5 separate regions of the Homo sapiens genome follow, and regions 1, 3, 4 and 5 are each linked to region 2. The links are contacts of gene promoters, found by promoter capture Hi-C in blood cells and fetal thymus (Javierre and others, 2016). All regions are on one chromosome and are shown on one strand. The core of a region is centred on a gene start or on the middle of the fragment in contact, and the rest is flanking DNA. Distances in the headings are between cores, read along the strand shown.

Evidence for each region. Contacts are between HindIII fragments. The CHiCAGO score rates a contact against its expected background, and 5 or more counts as called.
Region 1: a fragment that was not itself captured here is called in contact with the fragment with the promoter of BTK in region 2 in 1 of 17 cell types (total B cells); the score reaches 6.0 in total B cells.
Region 3: a contact is called between the fragment with the promoter of BEX5 here and the fragment with the promoter of BTK in region 2, in 2 of 17 cell types (naive CD4 T cells and activated CD4 T cells). The highest score is 5.2, in naive CD4 T cells.
Region 4: a fragment that was not itself captured here is called in contact with the fragment with the promoter of BTK in region 2 in 7 of 17 cell types (non-activated CD4 T cells, activated CD4 T cells, naive CD8 T cells and 4 more); the score reaches 11.4 in non-activated CD4 T cells.
Region 5: a contact is called between a fragment that was not itself captured here and the fragment with the promoter of BTK in region 2, in 11 of 17 cell types (neutrophils, fetal thymus, total CD8 T cells and 8 more). The highest score is 11.1, in neutrophils.

What each region holds. Positions count from the first base shown.
Region 1 is chrX:101,945,533-101,949,553 of GRCh38, forward strand. No RefSeq gene overlaps it. Among named protein-coding and RNA genes, the nearest start is that of ZMAT1, 16 kb to the left of the region's middle. The HindIII fragment of the contact is 1,919 bases long and covers 507-2,425 here.
Region 2 is chrX:101,384,565-101,388,199 of GRCh38, forward strand. It overlaps BTK (Bruton tyrosine kinase), which reads right to left and starts at 1,627. Exons shown (of 19, transcript NM_000061.3): 1 at 1,498-1,627. RefSeq lists an enhancer at 894-1,113. The HindIII fragment of the contact is 7,609 bases long and covers 461-3,635 here.
Region 3 is chrX:102,154,123-102,157,755 of GRCh38, forward strand. It overlaps BEX5 (brain expressed X-linked 5), which reads right to left and starts at 1,855. Exons shown (of 3, transcript NM_001012978.3): 1 at 1,737-1,855; 2 at 622-688; 3 at 1-180. The coding sequence starts at 143. RefSeq lists an enhancer at 1,672-1,811. The HindIII fragment of the contact is 12,891 bases long and covers 1-3,633 here.
Region 4 is chrX:100,824,398-100,827,524 of GRCh38, forward strand. CSTF2 (cleavage stimulation factor subunit 2) reads left to right here. Exons shown (of 14, transcript NM_001325.3): 7 at 2,237-2,360. Among named protein-coding and RNA genes, the nearest start is that of CSTF2, 5.6 kb to the left of the region's middle. The HindIII fragment of the contact is 2,048 bases long and covers 227-2,274 here.
Region 5 is chrX:101,924,745-101,928,296 of GRCh38, forward strand. All of the region lies in intron 1 of ZMAT1 (zinc finger matrin-type 1), which reads right to left. Among named protein-coding and RNA genes, the nearest start is that of ZMAT1, 5.5 kb to the right of the region's middle. The HindIII fragment of the contact is 2,183 bases long and covers 962-3,144 here.

The DNA.
Region 1 (4,021 bases), core at 216-2,715, 560 kb after region 2:
ATGTGTTAATATTAAGAGGCGAGGTCTTTGGGAAATGACTAGGTCATAAGGGCAGAGGCCTTGTGAATAGGATTAGTTTCCTTATAAAAGAAGCCTGCAAGAGCTTGTTTGCCCCTTTTGCCCTTCTGGCATGTGAGGGTACAGCTAAAGGGAGTCATCTTTGTAGCAGGGAGCAGGCACTCACTAGACATCAAATCTGCTGGCAACTTGATCTTGGACTTCTCAGGCTCCAGAACTGTGAGCCATAAATTTCTCTTGTTTATTGATTACCCAGTCTAGGGTATTTTGTTATAGCAACCCGAATGGACTAAGACAGAAACTGGTACCAAGAAGTGGATTGCTGCTGCAACTAGTATCTAAAAATATAGAAGTGGCTTTGGAACTAGGTAATGGGTAGAAGCTGAAAGAATTTGGAGGCACATGCTAGAAGAAGACTACATTGCCATGAGTGGAGCATTAAGAGTGATGCTGGTGAAGGCTCAGAAGAAGAGGAGTGCTGTAGAGAAAGCTTCAGTCTTCTTAGAGATTACCTAAGTGGTCATAAGCAGATGCCAAAGGTGTTAACTGCTTACACCCCGAGCCGACCAGTTGCACTTCAACAGTCCTAGGAACTGCCCAGACCACCCATTTTCCAGCCTAGGGTCTATATGGGTCTATTCAGATTACTGCACCAGAGGGAGGGTACTGGACTAAACAAAATGCATTAAACTTCCTCTATCTCCACTAATCTTCATTCTCCTTCTGGTTGGCTGGTAGGATTACAAATTATGATATATTCAGCTAACATACATTGAGAATTTAAGTGTCAGGAACAATACCACTTAAGATATGTGCACTCCTTCTTTTATTCTTTCCAACACTTTTATGTTGTGTGTACTTTTATTTTTATTTCATAGATGAGGAAATAAGTTCTTAGGGAAAACACATAACTATGGTTAATTATCATGCAAACAACAATAAGTTAAACTCAGGCTTTCATTAAATATATCTATATATTAGATCGCTTTATGAACTTGCCATTTTGTTCCTTAAACATTCATTATCATGTTTCTAGCCATAAAATGGGCACTTCTCACTTACGACTCTAGATATAGGATACCCAAATATAATATCACCTTCCACTTAATGACACCTTCCCATTTTACTACCTCTTTTCTATTTTGGCATAAATTATGCCAGATTGATGCCTGGATTTAAGGAAGATAACAGAATGGGGATCAATAAAATCCAGAACCTCCCCCACCCCAAAAGTTTATTCCATATGCCACAAAAAGGCATTCTGCCAAAGTCTGCCGTCATTCTCCTTTATAATGGTTTTTAAGTTTAGTTAACTAACTGTAGGTTCTTAACAGGGAATAGAGATCTCTGCAACTGATCCCACACTTACAACTGTGTAGATCTTCCAATGAAGAATAAAAGATCTGAAATTAGTATTCAGAGCCAATATTATTAAGTAGGATACCAGCTCTGGCTCCAACCCATCACAGTGATGTTGAATGAGGAGCCACTACAGGATTCAAGATGACAATATCCATGAATCTCATCATAATAAACAAACACCCTGAGCATACCAGGGACTATATGCCAAAAGCCTGAAAATGTTGTAGAGCATTTATTCTGGTTATGCTTGTCCTGGCCAAGACTTAATTTAGTTCATGGTTTGGATGTGGACTTTGCCACTTCTGCTCAATGCCAAAGTCCTTGGGCTTCTTTTCCTCCTTCTTGTTTGGAGTATTCAATTAGTTCACAGTTTTTCTATAAGAAGTGACTCTGTAACTGCTAGGGCAAAAGACAAATCTCTGGACACTTTCATAATAACTTTTCAAAGGTACTTTACCTCAAGGTCTTAAAGGTAGCTCCAGACTCACATCAGGAGCCCTGACCTCCCACCACACTAGGTTCTTTACAGTTAACATCCACAAGCAGTAATGAACAACACAGGCCAACAATCATCACCTCAAGAATGATGACCTCAGACCGTCAATCCAACTTTTCCAAGATGATGACCTCTGCCAAAGAGACCAACTCTTTCCAAATGATGATCTCAGCACAACTGACAGTCCCAGCATTAACAATGATACCCTAGGATGTCCTGCCCCCAAAATTCCATGCCCAAACCCACCAAACAAAGATTTTGATCTCCTCCTTGCTTCCAAAAACAACCCCTGGCTCTTCCACTCCACCTGTAAACCCACCTGGATCCCCTATAATTTCCCCAACTACTCTTTCTTATTTCTCACCTCCTGCCTTATACCCCAAGTTTCAATCTATGCAGATATTTGTTTCCTACCTACCAGATGCCAACACCACCATGGTTACTGTGAACTGCTTAACTAAAGATCCCACCCATCCTGCTTATATATGCCTTTGTGATTTCATATACTTCTTATTTATGCAATGTTAAGGATACCTTACAAAGAAGTAAAGCTTATTGGCAGGTCCTTACTTGCCTAGACCATACCTAAACCCTGTTGAATGACACCATGGAGAGATCTCACAAATACAATCCCACTGGGGATTACTGTTTAAACATATTAATTTTGAGGGGACACAAACATGCAGCCCACAACAACCTCTCTCATTTAGCCTCCCCACAGAAAGAAGCACCAACCTATCTTTTTCTATCATATTGGACCTTATGACAATCTCTGGTATAACAGGAACACATTTAGTTATTTTCAATTCTGTAACACAGACTGAATTCATAAGGCCACTCAGACATTGTCACAGTCCTGGCAGACCATATACAGTAAGCATCTTAAGCCTTAGAAGCCCTTAATGAGGCACAAAGCCCTCTAGTTGCTGTGGTAGCTGACAAAAGATTAGCATTGGACTACCTACTGCCATGTCAAGGTAAAGTTTCTGTCTTAAAGAGGACCTCCTGCTGCATGTAGGTTAATAAGACAGAACAAGTCTCCAGAATATTTAAACAAATAGAACAAACCAAAATAATTAATAATACTACAAGAGTACTCTAAGAGATTCTCCAGACCCCAGTTGATACCTTCTCTTGGCCGTCTCCTGCATGCAGTGACTGGCTCTGCCCTATCTTTCAGGGAGCTATAATAGTTGCTGGTCAAATTATTGTGAATTGACTTTGCAAATTTGATCTCTCTCAGACAAAGTATATGTTTATTTACGGGAAACCTGAGCAGTTGCTGTGCTTACTCAGATTTAGGCATAATTGAGAAGACCACAGGAAAAAAAATCTTGTATCCCCACTGATACTTGACTGAGTGTCAGCAACCCCTAAGCCACATTCCTACTGTGTCTTTTGCCTTCCTTTAGCATTAGTATCCTGATAACCGTCACTCTGCCCCCACACACATACCACAAGCTAATGCACCCTCTTGATTCCTCTTTTAAACTTTTTGCTGGCAACTTCCTCTTTTATAAAGTGCCTGTGTACTTGCCAGTCTCTCTCTCTCTCTCTCTCTCTCTCTCTCTCTCTCTCTCTCTCTGTCTCTCCCTCCTCACCTGCCCCTAGGCTCTCTCCCAGAGGGCTAACCTTTCATCCTCTTGCCTTGAGATTTCCCTGCCTGTGTAAGTAATACATCTTCCTTTGATCATACCAAAGGATGACTGTTACAAGTTTCGATATCAGAAACAAATATTTTCAGGCCGGGAGATTTCCAGTGTCCCAGTACAGTTGCTATACCAAGAGGGTTTATTCACCATCCATCACAACAAAAGCGACTGGGATAGGTCATCCTTCCTCCAATTGGTCTGAGTCTGCTTAGGTGAGCTGATGCATGTGCCCAGCTGAATAATTCCATAGGCTTCTGCTTCCATCTACTATATTCAGGCTCCTTTCTATGTCATTCAGTGTGACAATGTTGAAAAGAGAGACCACTATAATTCCATGTACACACTCATTTAAGCAATAGAGGAAGAGGATGAATAAGGGGAGATAAGAACCCTGACACATAATGAATGAATATGTATATTCTGGAAAATCTGTCTTTTTTGGAGGGAAAAACCAAATAAGGGGAAAATTCCATCTTTTTGGAGTGAACAGCCA
Region 2 (3,635 bases), core at 377-2,876:
ATTGCACTCCAGCCTGGGCAGCAAGAGTGAAACTCCGTGTCAAAAAAAAAAAAAAAAAATTCCAAACAAAAATATCAATAGCCATACGCAATGGAAATTTGGACTTCAACACAAGCAAGCAGTTTAAATAGTTTGAATATAAAAGGAGTCAGAATAGACAGGACAAGCCCTAAGGGACACTGTTTGGGTATAATGCTTTAGGTTGCCATGAGTATTTGCATTTTGTGGCTTATTTGGAAAGTGACATTATTTTATCAAATAACTGAGGCTCCAGAGAGGCTGGAGTCTGGGCAACTTATCCAAGGATGTCTTGATTGGGGTCACCAATCACTTTTATTCTAAATGTCATATTATTTGCTCTAGGTAGGCCCTCTGGGGGACATTGGCAGGTCTGAGGCAGAGTAAAAATTATAGCAAATACTGAGATCCAGCACTTACTATTGCCAGGCCCTGTTTTAAAAGCTTTACATGTATTTGCACATTTACTGCTCACAACCACCTTATGGGGAAGGTGCTAGGCAGGCAGGGAGGAGGAAATGGAAAGGGAAAGGAAAAGGGAAAAGAGCGGGGGAAGAAAGGAGCAAGAAAAAGTCAATGCAATTCGGCAATTATTTGTTAAGTGCTAACTGTATGTCAGGGTCTGGTAATCAACAGAACAGAGGAGGGTATAATGAAGAGGGGATATAGGTAGAGAAAAGAGGATGAGTGGGAAGAGGAGGAGGTTGGAGAGGAGGAAAGGAAAGGAGAAATAATGAAGACAAGAGAAAAGCAAGCCATGCACATGGAGGGCAATGGTAAGAGGAGAAACCTTTGCCACAACCTCAAGGGTTGGCCGCACTGTCTGGGCTGAGGCAGAGGCTGCTTTCTCCTGGCCCAGTCTTTTACCCATTGTTACCACGAGGTTGGCACAGCTTCCACACAGTCCTTTAATAAGCCAGCTCTGACCCTGGCGACATTTGGCCTGGTACAGCTCAAGGCAGGTAGCCTACACCCTGGCCTAGCCAGGCCTTTCCCTAGCTCACAAAGGTCAACTTCATAACGTGGAGCGTGAGCTTTTACCATGTTCTCAGAGAATCTGCCTCTTAGTATTTCTTTTTCTAAAGGCTTCATTGACCCATGTATCCCTATTGAGTCTTCAAGCACTATTTGACAGAAGGGCTTGTTTTTATCTGACTGCTCCCTGCAATATTACTTTTCCACTAAGTTTGCCAGAGGTACCCCTTTCTAACATTTGCTACCTGTTCGGATGGTCACCTCATGTCACATTTTTCTCTTCCTGTTCCGCCCACCCTCAGCCCTTGTCGGAAAGGACCCTTTCGGCCTCTCTAATCACCAGAAGGGACTGCCAGGGCCTTGTGCTGATGACACTCCCACCCTCCGTCAGCCTCCTCCACTAGCTGATAAATGGCACCAGCCATGCTGTCTCTCTGGTTTTTAGGGGTCCCAAGCAAGGTACATTGCTGCTGCTGCCCAGCCCCTGCCATACCCCAGACCCACCTCAGTCCTGACTTAATGCAGGTAGCTTCCCAGATGCATTGAGATGCCAGGACTTGGAAGGTGGGACTCGATCGCAGCAGACACTGGCCCTGGAGACATATTCTTACAGTCCAGAGAGGAAGGACAGTCTGAGCAAACCCCACCCTTTCACAGCCACTCAGTTCCCTTTTTTTGCTTCCTGACCTAAACCAATGTCTTTTTTTCTTCTCAGCAGCATGCTATCTGGTTCCCTGCTGCCGTCCCTATTCCACCCCCTCAACTGTCCCCGCCCTTCATTTGCTTGGGACCTCTGACACTACTATCTTGAGTCTATCTTTGAAAGAACCTTTCTCAACATGACTGGGGCCACTGAGACTCTAGATGGGGCTGGCCTGAGCAGACAGGTCATCAAGCTATCCTCCCAGAGGTAAAGGGACAACATACCTAAAGTACTATGAAGACAGTCAGCACAGGGAGAGGGGCTTACAGGAAAGAGGAGAGATGCTGGGGGCTGGCAGACACAGAGCAAAGAGACTGGCCAGGAAGAGCGTTTTTCGAGTCTCCTGTCCTCCGGGGCAGAGGAGTCTCAGGGACACACAGTTGAACTTGATAGTGAAGGGACCCCAAAGGACAAAACAAGACAGAGGTAGAGACAAGACTTCCCCGTGCTGAGTCATTTTCTAAGAAAGCATTTTTCCCCTACAGATAAAAATGTCGGAATATAAGCCCACAGAAATACTTGTGCCCTTCCCCATTTTCTGTGGATGTTGACTTTCTCCATTTAAGATTTGGCCTCAGGGATTAACTCTCAATGTCCACCTTTCTCTTGAGTCCTGTAAACCGGTAAAGCAGACTAGGTATGTCACTTGAAGCCTGGAGGTTTTCTCAGGGGCCCCCTACATTATGCTCCAACTGCAATGATTCCCCCAGGGATTCTCCTAGGAAATGCAGCCAGTATTGAATGCAGACCATGATGGTGGAGCCCCTGCTGACTGATCTGCCTGCCCACCTTGACACCTCGGGCACTGCCATATTTCCTTGCCCCAAGGCACTGTATCCTAATGTAGAAACAGATCACAGGTCCCACTACAATTTCATCCGAAGTTTTAAGTCAACAGGACCTTATTTTTTTTTCTTTATTTTGTCTAAAAAACAAACAAACAAGCAAACAAAAAAAATGGGGTATATGTGCAGAAGGTGCAAGTTTGTTACATAGGTATATGTGTGACATGGTGATTTGCTGCACCTATTGACCCATCCTCTAAGATCCCTCCCCTCACCCCCAAGCCCCAACAGGCCCTGGGACCTTTTTTTTTTTTTTTTTTTTTTGAGACAGGGTCTTGCTCTGAAGCCCAGGTTGGAGTGCAGTGGCGTGATCATGGCTCACTGCAGCCTCCACCTCCTGGGCTCAAGTGATCCTCTCACCTCAGTCACCCTAGTACCTGGGACTATAGGCACACATCACTGTGCTGGGCTAATTTTTCTACTTTTTGTAGAGATGGGGTTTCACTATGTTGCCCAGGCTGGTCTCAAACTCCTGGGCTCAAGCGATACTCCTGCCTTGGCCTCCCAAAATGCAGGGATTACAGGAGTGAGCCACCTCTCCCAGCCATCAACAGGACTTTAAATAAAAACATTTAAAGTATTTGTAGACTGATGATAGAGTGGTTGATACTCACATTTGCACAAGACAGATGGACAGCATGTGTTGTATGATTGCCTTACTTTATTGACAACGTCTATCCTTTCGCTAGTCACCCCCAATAGCTGTTCCACTCACCTGCCTGAGGGTTGGCCACAGGCATTCATCTTCCCTCCTCTTTTCTTCAGTTTTTTTTTTTTTTGAGACGGAGTCTTGCCCTGTCGCCCAGGCTGGAGTGCAGTGGCATGATCTCGGCTCACTGCAAGCTCCACCTCCCGGGTTCACGCCATTGTCCTGCCTCAGTCTCCTGAGTAGTTGGGACTACAGGTGCCTGCCACCACGCCTGGCTAATTTTTTGTATTTTTAGTAGAGACGGGGTTTCACCATGTTAGCCAGGATGGTCTCGATCTCCTGACCTCGTGATCCACCCGCCTCAGCTTCCCAAAGTGCTGGGATTACATGCGTGAGCCACCGTGCCCAGGCTCTTTTCTTCAGTCTTATGCCACTTGTTGTCACA
Region 3 (3,633 bases), core at 605-3,104, 770 kb after region 2:
TCTCCAAAACCCGGGGCAGGTGGAGCCCAAACCCCTTTAACATTTCCTCCAGGCTCCTGGTATTCACCACCTCCTAAAGCGGGGGCTTCATTCTGCACTGGGGCCTTCTCCACAACTTTGTTTTCCTTGGGGACATTTTCCATGTTGAGTTTTTTTCCTGTTTTTTTTTTTTTTTTCTTCCTAGAAGATAAAAAGCAAGAAGAGGGAATGAATGCTTGATAGGATTCAGAGCTCTGTTTGGCAAAGGTTTTCCCACCTGAGAAACTTTATGAACCCTGTAGGGGGCGCCCCAGACCCAGCGCTGCCCCAAAGCCCATCATTTTCCCTGAAAATCCCTTCCCCAGGCCACTCCTACCGCCAAAATGCAAGACGACTTAGCGGAGGGGGACGATCATAGAGAGACCAGACTTCACCTCCCTGGGATCCTAATAAGCTCTCCAGGAGCGCCCCAGATCTCGCCCCTCTACTCCCTTCTTCCCTCATCAGATACAGGCTGTCATTTTATGAAGACTCTCCTAAGTTTCTCCTGCACTCAACTCGGGCAGGAAGGGCTGTGAGTCACCCAGATTCTGCTCTGATCCTTGATACCCCTACACCAGAGGGCCCCAGGCAACCTCCTACCTTCAGGGATCAGAGGCAGTCTTTCTCTCTTAGCCTTGAAATCGGCTGCACAAACGCACTTAAAGACCTGCAGACAAATGTGACAATTACCAGGACTGATCTTTTAATCAAAGGACCGGTAATGGGAGTTGATTTAGGGTTCTCCTAGTATTAGCACCTTCTGTTTCTCCTCCATCCTGTCTCACGGCTTCTTTTCCCACCCTGTGACAGGCTATCCCACCTTCCAGAAATAGGCATCAAAGATGATTATTTCCAAAACGTTTTAACCTCTTCTTTAGGCGCCCATCTCTACTGTTTCCTCTTACCTGTCATCTAGTTACCCTTTCTGCAACGCAGGCAACTTGCCTGGCGGGGGAGTTAGAAGAGCTTGCTGAATGAATACGTAGTTTATTCACAAAGAATTTCAATCTAGATATCCATCAGGCCCTCTCTCCACCCGATCCCCACTCCCATGCCCACCATTTTATGCATCAAGATGGACGATGAGTGAAGAGGTATGTGGGCATTGAAAACTAGGACCTGCTGCGGTCTCTGCGCTTTGTCATTCTCACTCCAGGATCTACAGGTAGCGCCCACGCTTACACCGACCGACCTGCTGAGACCAAAAACAGTTTCTCGCTCCTCGCCTCTGTCCCTCAGTCAGAAGCTCGCCCGCTCAACTGCCGCAATAGGGACCTGCTTTCCAGACCTAATCTCTGTCCCCCTCCTCTGCAGCAATTCCTCTCCTCGGCCCCCGCAGCCTATCATTTCCAGCTCTAAATGGGTAGAGGGTGAAGAAAAGATACCTAGAAGGCAGGCCTAAAACCTTGGCAGGGTCCGCCCTCCCCAACCCTTGGTTGCCGGCTGTACCTCCCTCCCGCGGACCTGCAGGAAGCAGGCTGTTTCCTTTCAGTCTCCTCCACCGGCTGGACTCCATCAGACATTGCCCGATGGCCGGCCTCCTAGGAGATCTCAAATGGTACCCATTCTCAATCCAGCCCCCTCGGGAGATCCTCTCCCCAACCGCTCCATTTCTCGCACTAAACGGGTGTGTATCTGGAAAGGGTGTGTATCCAGTCCTAGACCCGCTCTGGTCTTTGCCCTCTGCTGCTCACACACCGGTCAGCGCCACCTACCTGCCAGGGCTCAGGGGTCAGCTTCTACCACTTTCCACCTTTCCTGGGCAGCTGGCTCGCCTGCCTTCAGGGCAACAGCGAGCCGTCACACGGCCAGCGACAACTACCAGACTGCAACTAGGAGGAGGGACTAATCCACGCATTGGCTCTGGGTCTCCTAAGGGTCACGTCACTGTGAGCTCAGATTTCCAATTACCATTCACACCCGCAGTGCGGCAGGAGGGTGGGGGCGGGACTGTGGGCGGGGCCACCTTTCTCTTCATTCGTGCTTTCTCCACCACTACCACAGGCTACTATCCACCCCTCTATTTTTTTATTTAGCGATCCCCACGACCAAACGGGTCATAATATTTTGTATTTGGCTTGCTCTGGTTTCTGCTGGAGCTTTTAAAAAATCGCTTCTTCCTCTTCTATACACCTAAACGCACACTTCTCTCCCCTTCACGTCCAGCAAGTAAAGCCCTAACAGTCTTGTAGGGCTTGGTCCCAGATTGGAACCCGGAGAAGGGGTGGGGAGCGAGAGGCTAGGAAGTCTGGAAAATAGGCAGGAAGTGGTATTCAAATTTTTTTTTCACTTCAACTACTTTCCTTTTTGTTTGTTTATTTGGGAAGGGGGTTCCTTTTATTTTTCATCAGCATGCATTCATTTTGTTGTTGTTTTTATAACTAGACAATACAATTATTTTCAGTTGAAAAAACAGGATTCGAGTTGTAAAAACATGGCAATCTGTTTCTCCTGCTGAATCATATTATAAATATAAACCTTCCAGAAAGCATTCCCCTGCCTCCTTTAAGGACTTTGAAATAAGGCCGGGAGCGGTGGCTCGTGCCTGTGATCCTAGCACTTTGGGAGGCCGAGGTGGGTGGATCACGGGGTCAGTAGTTCAAGACCAGCCTGGCCAAGATGGTGAAACCCCGTCTCTACTAAAAATACAAAAAGTAGCTGGGCGTGGTGGCAGGCGCCTGTAATCCCAGCTACTCGGGAGGCTGAGGCAGGAGAATTGCTTGAACCTGGGCGGCAGAGGTTGTAGTGAGCCGAGGTAGCACCATTGCACACCAAGCCTGGGCGATAGAGTGAGACTCTGTCAAGAAAGAAAGAAGGAAAGAAAGAAAGAAGGAAAGAAAGAAAGAAAGAGAAAGAAAGGAAGAAGAAAAGAAAAGAAAAGAGGAAGGAAAGAAGGAAAGAAGTGATTTTCTCGTGAAGGATCTCTACATGTCCTTCCGTGAAATGATGCATTGAGTCTAATAGAGCCTCTCTGGTGGATTTTCATGTCTTGAGAACCTGTGACAAACTGATGATCTCCTCTAAATTGTATTAGTGTAACCACAATTTACAATAACACCTAGCCCTGATGATTCAGGACAATAATTTGGGGAAGCTACCCTGACAGATGAAAATGTATTGTGATGGACACATAGAGGGGAACAACACTGGGGCCTACAGGAGGGTGGAGGATGGGAGGAGGGAGAGGATCAGTTTACCTATATAACAAAGCTGCACATGTATTCCTGAACTTAAAATAAAAGTTTAAAAAGTATTGTGAAATTACAATGTTAAGATAATAGTGTACCAGAATAAATTTAGAACAAATGAACCAGAAAAGAAATTCAATTATCAAACCCAAATATGGAAAAAATGCTAGTAAATGCATTGAAATATTTTGAATCAGTGGGGAAAGGTTAGATTGAAGAAATTGTATCGGGATAATTGACTATTTTCAAAAACAATGAAGTGCCTTATCATTCTCATACACTTAAAAATAGACACTAAATGTTTGCATAAAAGACATTAAACCATTAAAAATAGAACTTAGCATGTTATTTTTTATATAATAGAATGGAAAAGTTGTTTTAAATACAGCACCAGATCCTGACAAGACCAAAAGGCAACTGGCTC
Region 4 (3,127 bases), core at 1-2,500, 560 kb before region 2:
CAGAGCACATGACATCTGAATGAATATAGATTCGATTCCAAGTTTGTAAAACAAAGAGATCCTTCCCGTATGCCCTTTTCTTATAAGCTAACTTTGTGTGTATGTGCATGCCTGGCACTGTGGTTGGCACTTCGTTATTCCATATGCATTATCTCATTTAATCCTCAAAGCAATTGTATGAGGTTGGCACTCTTATTATCTCCATTCTTACTGATGAAAAAAGTAAAGCTTGCTTTCAAAGCATGACACAAAACCTTAAAGCCATAAAAAATTGATACATTTGAAAACTAAAAAATTTCTATATAAAGAAAAAAATAAGTATCAAAGACATGACAAATTGAGAAAAAGTATTTACCACACATGTGATGGAAAACAGACTAATAAAGAGCCCATAGTCATTCACAAGAATGTTTATTGCCTTAGAGTGAAAAATTGGAAATGTCCTAAATGTACGTCAGTGGAAGAATGGAGAAAATGTGTGGTACATTCATCCAGTGAAATACTGTACAACAGTTAAATAAACTACACGTATCAACATGAATGACTTTGAAAAACATAATTCCATACAGCAGTTAAGATGAACTAGGATACATAATATCAACACAACTCCAAAACAGTGACATACGGACATGAAACTAAGTGAATATGGATGCATTCCCGAAATGTAGGATATATGTTTCTGCATAAATCCCCAAAATATGTGGAATGAGTTGCAAAATAATATATTGAGTATGTAATGATTCATATAAAATTTTGAAACATTAAGAAGACGTCTTAGTGGTCATCAAAGGAGAAGAGAGCACAGGATGCAATTGGGGAAGACCGTACAGGCCATTGGTTTATTTTATTTACTTATTTATTTCCTAAGCTGGGTGGCTATTTTATTTTCTATATGATTTGTATATCTGTAATTTTTCATAATAAATTTTAAAAGGCCTCCTATAAATTAGTAAGAAAATTTCCAATAACCCAGTAGAAAAATGGGAAATAGACATAAATATTTCACAAAAGGAGAAATATAAATATATAAAAATTTATTCAACTTCAAAATAAGATAATGTAATAAATTATCATTTATATATGTAATGTTATAAGATAATGTAAATAGAAACTACAATAAGCTACCATTTTTCATCTCTCAGGTTGGCAGAGGTACAGGGCAGGGACCAGCAAACATTTTTCTGTAAATGATCAGACAGTAAATATTTTTGGCTTTGCAAGTCACAGGATCTGCCACAGCTACTCTGCCATGGTAGTATGAAATCAGCCATAGGCAATAAGTGAACAAGTGTGTGTGGTTGTGTTCCGTTAAAAGTTTGTTTATAAAACCAGGCAGTGAGCCCGATTTGGCCCATGGGTCATAGTTTGCCAACCCCTGCTCTAAATAAATAAATACATTTTCAGAGATAGAAAAAAAAAGCTAAGGCCCAGAGAGGTTAGCTGGTCCAAAAATTGACACAATTATAAGTGGCAGATCTATTTCTGAACCTGGTTTTATCTGACCTCACAGCCAGTTTTCTCTTAACTACTTTCCTATACAGCTCTTCCTTTTCTTTTGTAGAGTTTTGTGTTCCTTAAACGTATATGTGATTTTTTTTATATAACTTGGCTTTTATTCTTTATTTATTGAGCTGTTTCTAATTCAAGGGACTACTCAGTTTTTTGGGGAATGCACAGATGAAAAGATGACATTCTCTTTTTCTCAACGAGTTTTAATGTAGCATTTAAAAAAATATATTTCACATTCCCCCAAAACCAGAATTATATCTAAGGACAGGAGTGAGAAAAGATTGGTTAAATTAAAAAAAAAATTTAATTTTAAAAATGTGGACTACCAGCAGTTGTTTTTTTTAAAAGAGTCCCAGTCTCCTTTTATGTTTCTTGGGTTTAGGGCTTTTTTTTTTTTTTTTTTTTACTCTTATTGGCAGCCCCAATCATGAAGTTAACAGTAGGTGTTATGTGCTGCCTTGCCACACAGATAAGACTTGTCAATCTCTACATTGAGAATATGTTCCATCTTAACCGTGTTCCATATAACCAGGCTCATGACGTATATTGCTTCTGTGGAGTTTAAAGTGTGTGACAAATCTAATGCTGCATAAGACATGCCATACAAAAAGGATGTTTAGTAGTGTATTTGGGGCTGTTCATTTGAAGAGGACTTTTAAGGTCGTAGACTTAGTATATTGAGTATCCACAGAGGCATATACATACTCTGTTTTTTTTGCTTGGTCAGGGTGGAATGCATGTCAATGGCGCACCTCCTCTGATGCAAGCTTCTATGCAGGGTGGAGTTCCAGCACCAGGGCAAATGCCAGCTGCTGTCACAGGACCTGGCCCTGGTTCCTTAGCTCCTGGAGGTAAGTTTCATTTAGTCTTCACCATTTCAGTACTTGCTAAAGTTTTGTCATAGCCACTGTTGCAGTGCAGCCAAATATGATAATGGGATCCTTAGGTAAAATTAATACACAGCTAGAAAGTATATATCTTAGGTGGAGGAAATAGTAGATTTCTTACGTTAAATCCTGTATGTCTAATTATAAGAACAGGGAAAGGGACAGTAAAGTGAAAGAGCATAGTAAAACTTCCAAGTTAACAAGGGGGAAAATGGAATGAGTGGAAACAAAATCAAGCCAGCAAAAATAGAGAAGAGGAAAAAAGTAAGAGACAGTGTAAAATAAGTAATAATAAATGTAGAGTAAGATGGAAGGAATAAAAACTAATGTAGTTGTTACTCTGCTAAATATGAATGAACTGTCAGATTAGGTTCAAAAGCTCATGAAGAAAACAGACAAAAAAATACAAGGTCACATTTGTTATAGCATATTAAACTGACATAAAATTGTATTTTAACAAACATAATCAGAACAAACAACAAAAGGGAAAAAGAGAAATTTAAAAGCTATGTACATTTATTGAAAATGTATAGATCGGCAATTAATAAGAGTATTGCTCATATACTTGTAACTGTTCCTTGTTCAACAATTGTAACTAAGAAGATTGAGTGAAATAATGATTCCCCATATGAAACATCTGTATGAACACATGATGTATTACCAATATTTAAAGTTTTTTTATGTAACAAACTTGGTTTTTGTTAATTTATCTAATCTAGGGTAGGTTGAGT
Region 5 (3,552 bases), core at 803-3,302, 540 kb after region 2:
GGTAATAAGAAACTATTCAAGTTGCCAACTGTTAACAAATTAAGCATGACTTTTAAATATATATTACTTTCCATAAATACATCAGAAAGTTCTTCAGAGTGGAGAAATATGGTCATATAACAAAACTATGACCTATACGTACAGAGTTTCAATTTGGGATGATGAAAAAGTTCTGGAGATGGACAGTGGTGAAGCTTGCTTGGCAATGTAAATGTAGTTAATGCCACTGAATTTCACACTTAAAATGGCAAAGTTTATGGTGTGCATATTTTACAATAAAACATAAAATAAAATATTGAAAAAAATAAAAGATAAAAGCATCTGAATCACTGCATGAAGGACAGCTGCCCTGCAGAGTCAACCTGCTGCTCAGAGGAAACTGCATGAGCAAGTGATGGTTGTTTTGCTACCATGACATAAACAATCCACTTCTGAATAACATTTATGATGGTTATTTGAAATGAAATGGTAGTTTTGTGACAAATTATAAATGGGATCTGATCAGAGAGCTCATATATTCCAGTAATGTATTTGATTACATTTAAGTGTGGCTTCAGCATTTGGTGGGAGAAATGAATAAACTCCAATTTTCTATAAATAAGAGTGTTTTACCTCTTCATTTCCCTCTTACAAGAAATGTTTTCATGACCTAAGAAAATAAATCTTTCATAATAATTTGTAATGGGGAGAAAAACTATGACCTACAGTACTGGGATGTTGGAAAAAAATAAATAAGATTCTGAGTTGGTCAAACAGATTCAAATCCCATCTTTACCCACAACTATATAGCCTTCAGCAAATTATGTAACCACTATGGACCGTTTTTTATTTCACCTAAAAGGTACAGAAATACAATGTGTAATTTTTAATTCTAGGATTTGGTGAATGTTAAATGAAATAATTTTTAAAATGTTCAACACATGTAGGCACTTGATAAAGTATGCTTGTTCACTAATCCAGAAGCTTTGCATTTTTTACTTAATATTATACATAATCATTTTATTTAGACCAGAGTTATTTTAGAGGTCATCTAGTTCATGGTTTCTGAAACTCGGCACTATTGTCACTTTGGGCTGGATAACTGATTGTGGTGAGGAGCCTGTCCTACGCATTATAGGATATTTGGCAGCATCTTTGGCCTCTGCCAATCAGATGCCGGTAGCATTCCATAGTTGTGACAACCAAAAATATCTCCAGACAACGTCAAATATCCCGTGAGGCAAAACTGCCTCCAGTTTAGAACCAATCCAATGTCCTCATTTCATAAAGGAGGAAGCTAAGGCCCAGAGAGGTAATAGGAATTAAAGAATTGAGGGAGGTAAACTGTAAAACATGATTCTAGACTCAGGTGGATTTGGTCTATCAAAAAATTCTAGTAGTCTGGGAAGAGACAATAGTAATAGAGGGATGTTCTTAAGTCAGTAAGATGCAATTAGGAGTACTAATAGCTCACATTCTATGGACTTGGGCATTACTAAAATTCCTTATGTTGATATAAAATACTCAATTCAGTTTGTACCAGAATATCTGCCTTCAATGATATAAAAAGCAAAGAGATTGACTTGACAGAAACTTACTTTTTAGCTACTTTTGTTGGATTGTGCCTACTCCAAATAGCAGCACTATTATGTGAAAGTAAAGTAACATTAACTTCTGCATTCAAAAGTGCAGCTGAGTGTGAAATCCAAATTATCATATTTGAAATTTTCTAATTAATGCTACTACATAACAACAGGCAATTTAAGATGAAATGCATTTTTATGACAAAAATAAAACATTTATGGCTTGAGTGAGAATAATGAATTTGGTCCACCCATGCTTATGGAATTGTAAACCATGCAGGATCTCTGAGGAAAGGAACCAGAAAATTACCATATTTCTTCAGTTCCGGGCAAGAGAATTCTCTGTTCATTCCAATTAAATGTTCTTTGTTAACCCCCAAGTTTAAGCTATTCAAATTAGGTGACTCTATTTTAGATATAACTGGCTATATTTAATAAAGTGAATCTCACTTGCATTTGTTAAATGACAATTAGGTTGAGTTGCACAAAACCCCAAATTTCCTCCTCAGGATAACCCGTCAGATGTTTATGGGAAAAACTTGCTATTAGATGTTTTAATGCTTTGCTGAAGTGGGAAGTTCACAGGCCAACTGATCTTGATGCAAAAACATCTAGCATTATAAAGGATTCGTTGTATACCCTATTTTAATAAAGTAACAAAAATGGAGCAAACTTCAGGACTGGCTGCAATATCATAAACATAAATCTCATTCTCAGTCACAGATTTCAAGTCAGGCATTACAAAATCTGAGAAATAATCATTTTAATTGTGCAAAGAGCACATGTGCTATATTTTCCATGATTACACTTTTAAACTCCCTCAAGCATTCTTGATTAAATAGAATTAAAAAAAACTGACTTGACCTTTGCAATCTTTTAACACCATCACAATCTTAGAAAAGAATGAGCAGAGCACAGCACTAAGTTATAGGAGACTGGGGAACTGAGTTAACCTACACAAAATGTTTTAACTCTTTTTCCCCTAAAGGTCACACTCTGTTTAAGGAATTTTCATGAATAATAGCTGTGGTAGAAATGCAGATCTGTACCTCTCAGCATGATGACCACTCACAGCTATAATGCTATCTAGTGTCCTTAGTTTTTCAGTTTATAAGACTACCACCTGACTTATGAGTTTGCCAAGTTTTAGCTACTTTACACAGTTATCACAATCAAAGAAATAATGAAGGGTTTCCCATGGCATGTTAACAATTACATATTACAACAGAATTAACAAAATAATTGGGAGTACTAGTTATATGTTTAACATTTACATTGTCTTTATTTAAACCAAGTCCTTTACCTTCATAATCATAAGCACTTTGTAGCTAGCCAGCTCAGGGTTCATGCTTGTGAAGTCAGAAACTGAATTAAGGTACTGTGTAAATCCATTAACACACCTGATCCCATGACAGCTACTTTGCATCAGAAAGCCACCAAATACATGGCATTCATTCCAACAGGTTAGTAAATGTGAATGAATCTGCAAGGCTGGTTTCAGATGAGAAAGAATCAAAGTTTTTATCCTAACTGATATGTAATAAATATAGTAGGGGGTATGCTTAAGTTAGTCTTTACAACAAGCTTAGTTAGTATTTTCACACACTGAAATCTAATAGAGAGGATCACAAACGAACAAATAATAATTTACCTCTCTCCAGATATCTCCACCTGCCAAATGCAGATAATTAAAAACTAATTCTGTAACAGTTTACTATTCTTCCGTCACACCATTAGATTTACAGTATAATTTGCTTCACTGTGCCTGTAGTATATAAAATACTATGAGCTACAGAGTACAGATTTATAATAAACAATGGAATGGTCCTGTGGCTCAGGATTCTGACTAGTAACATTTAAAACTGCATTCCTTCCCTTATTTAAATATTTTATAATTTTACTATCAAGCACTATTATTGAGTTGTTTAGTATAGCTGTGTTTAATTTGTCCGTATATCCTTAACACTAAGCATAGTGCCTGGCACACACA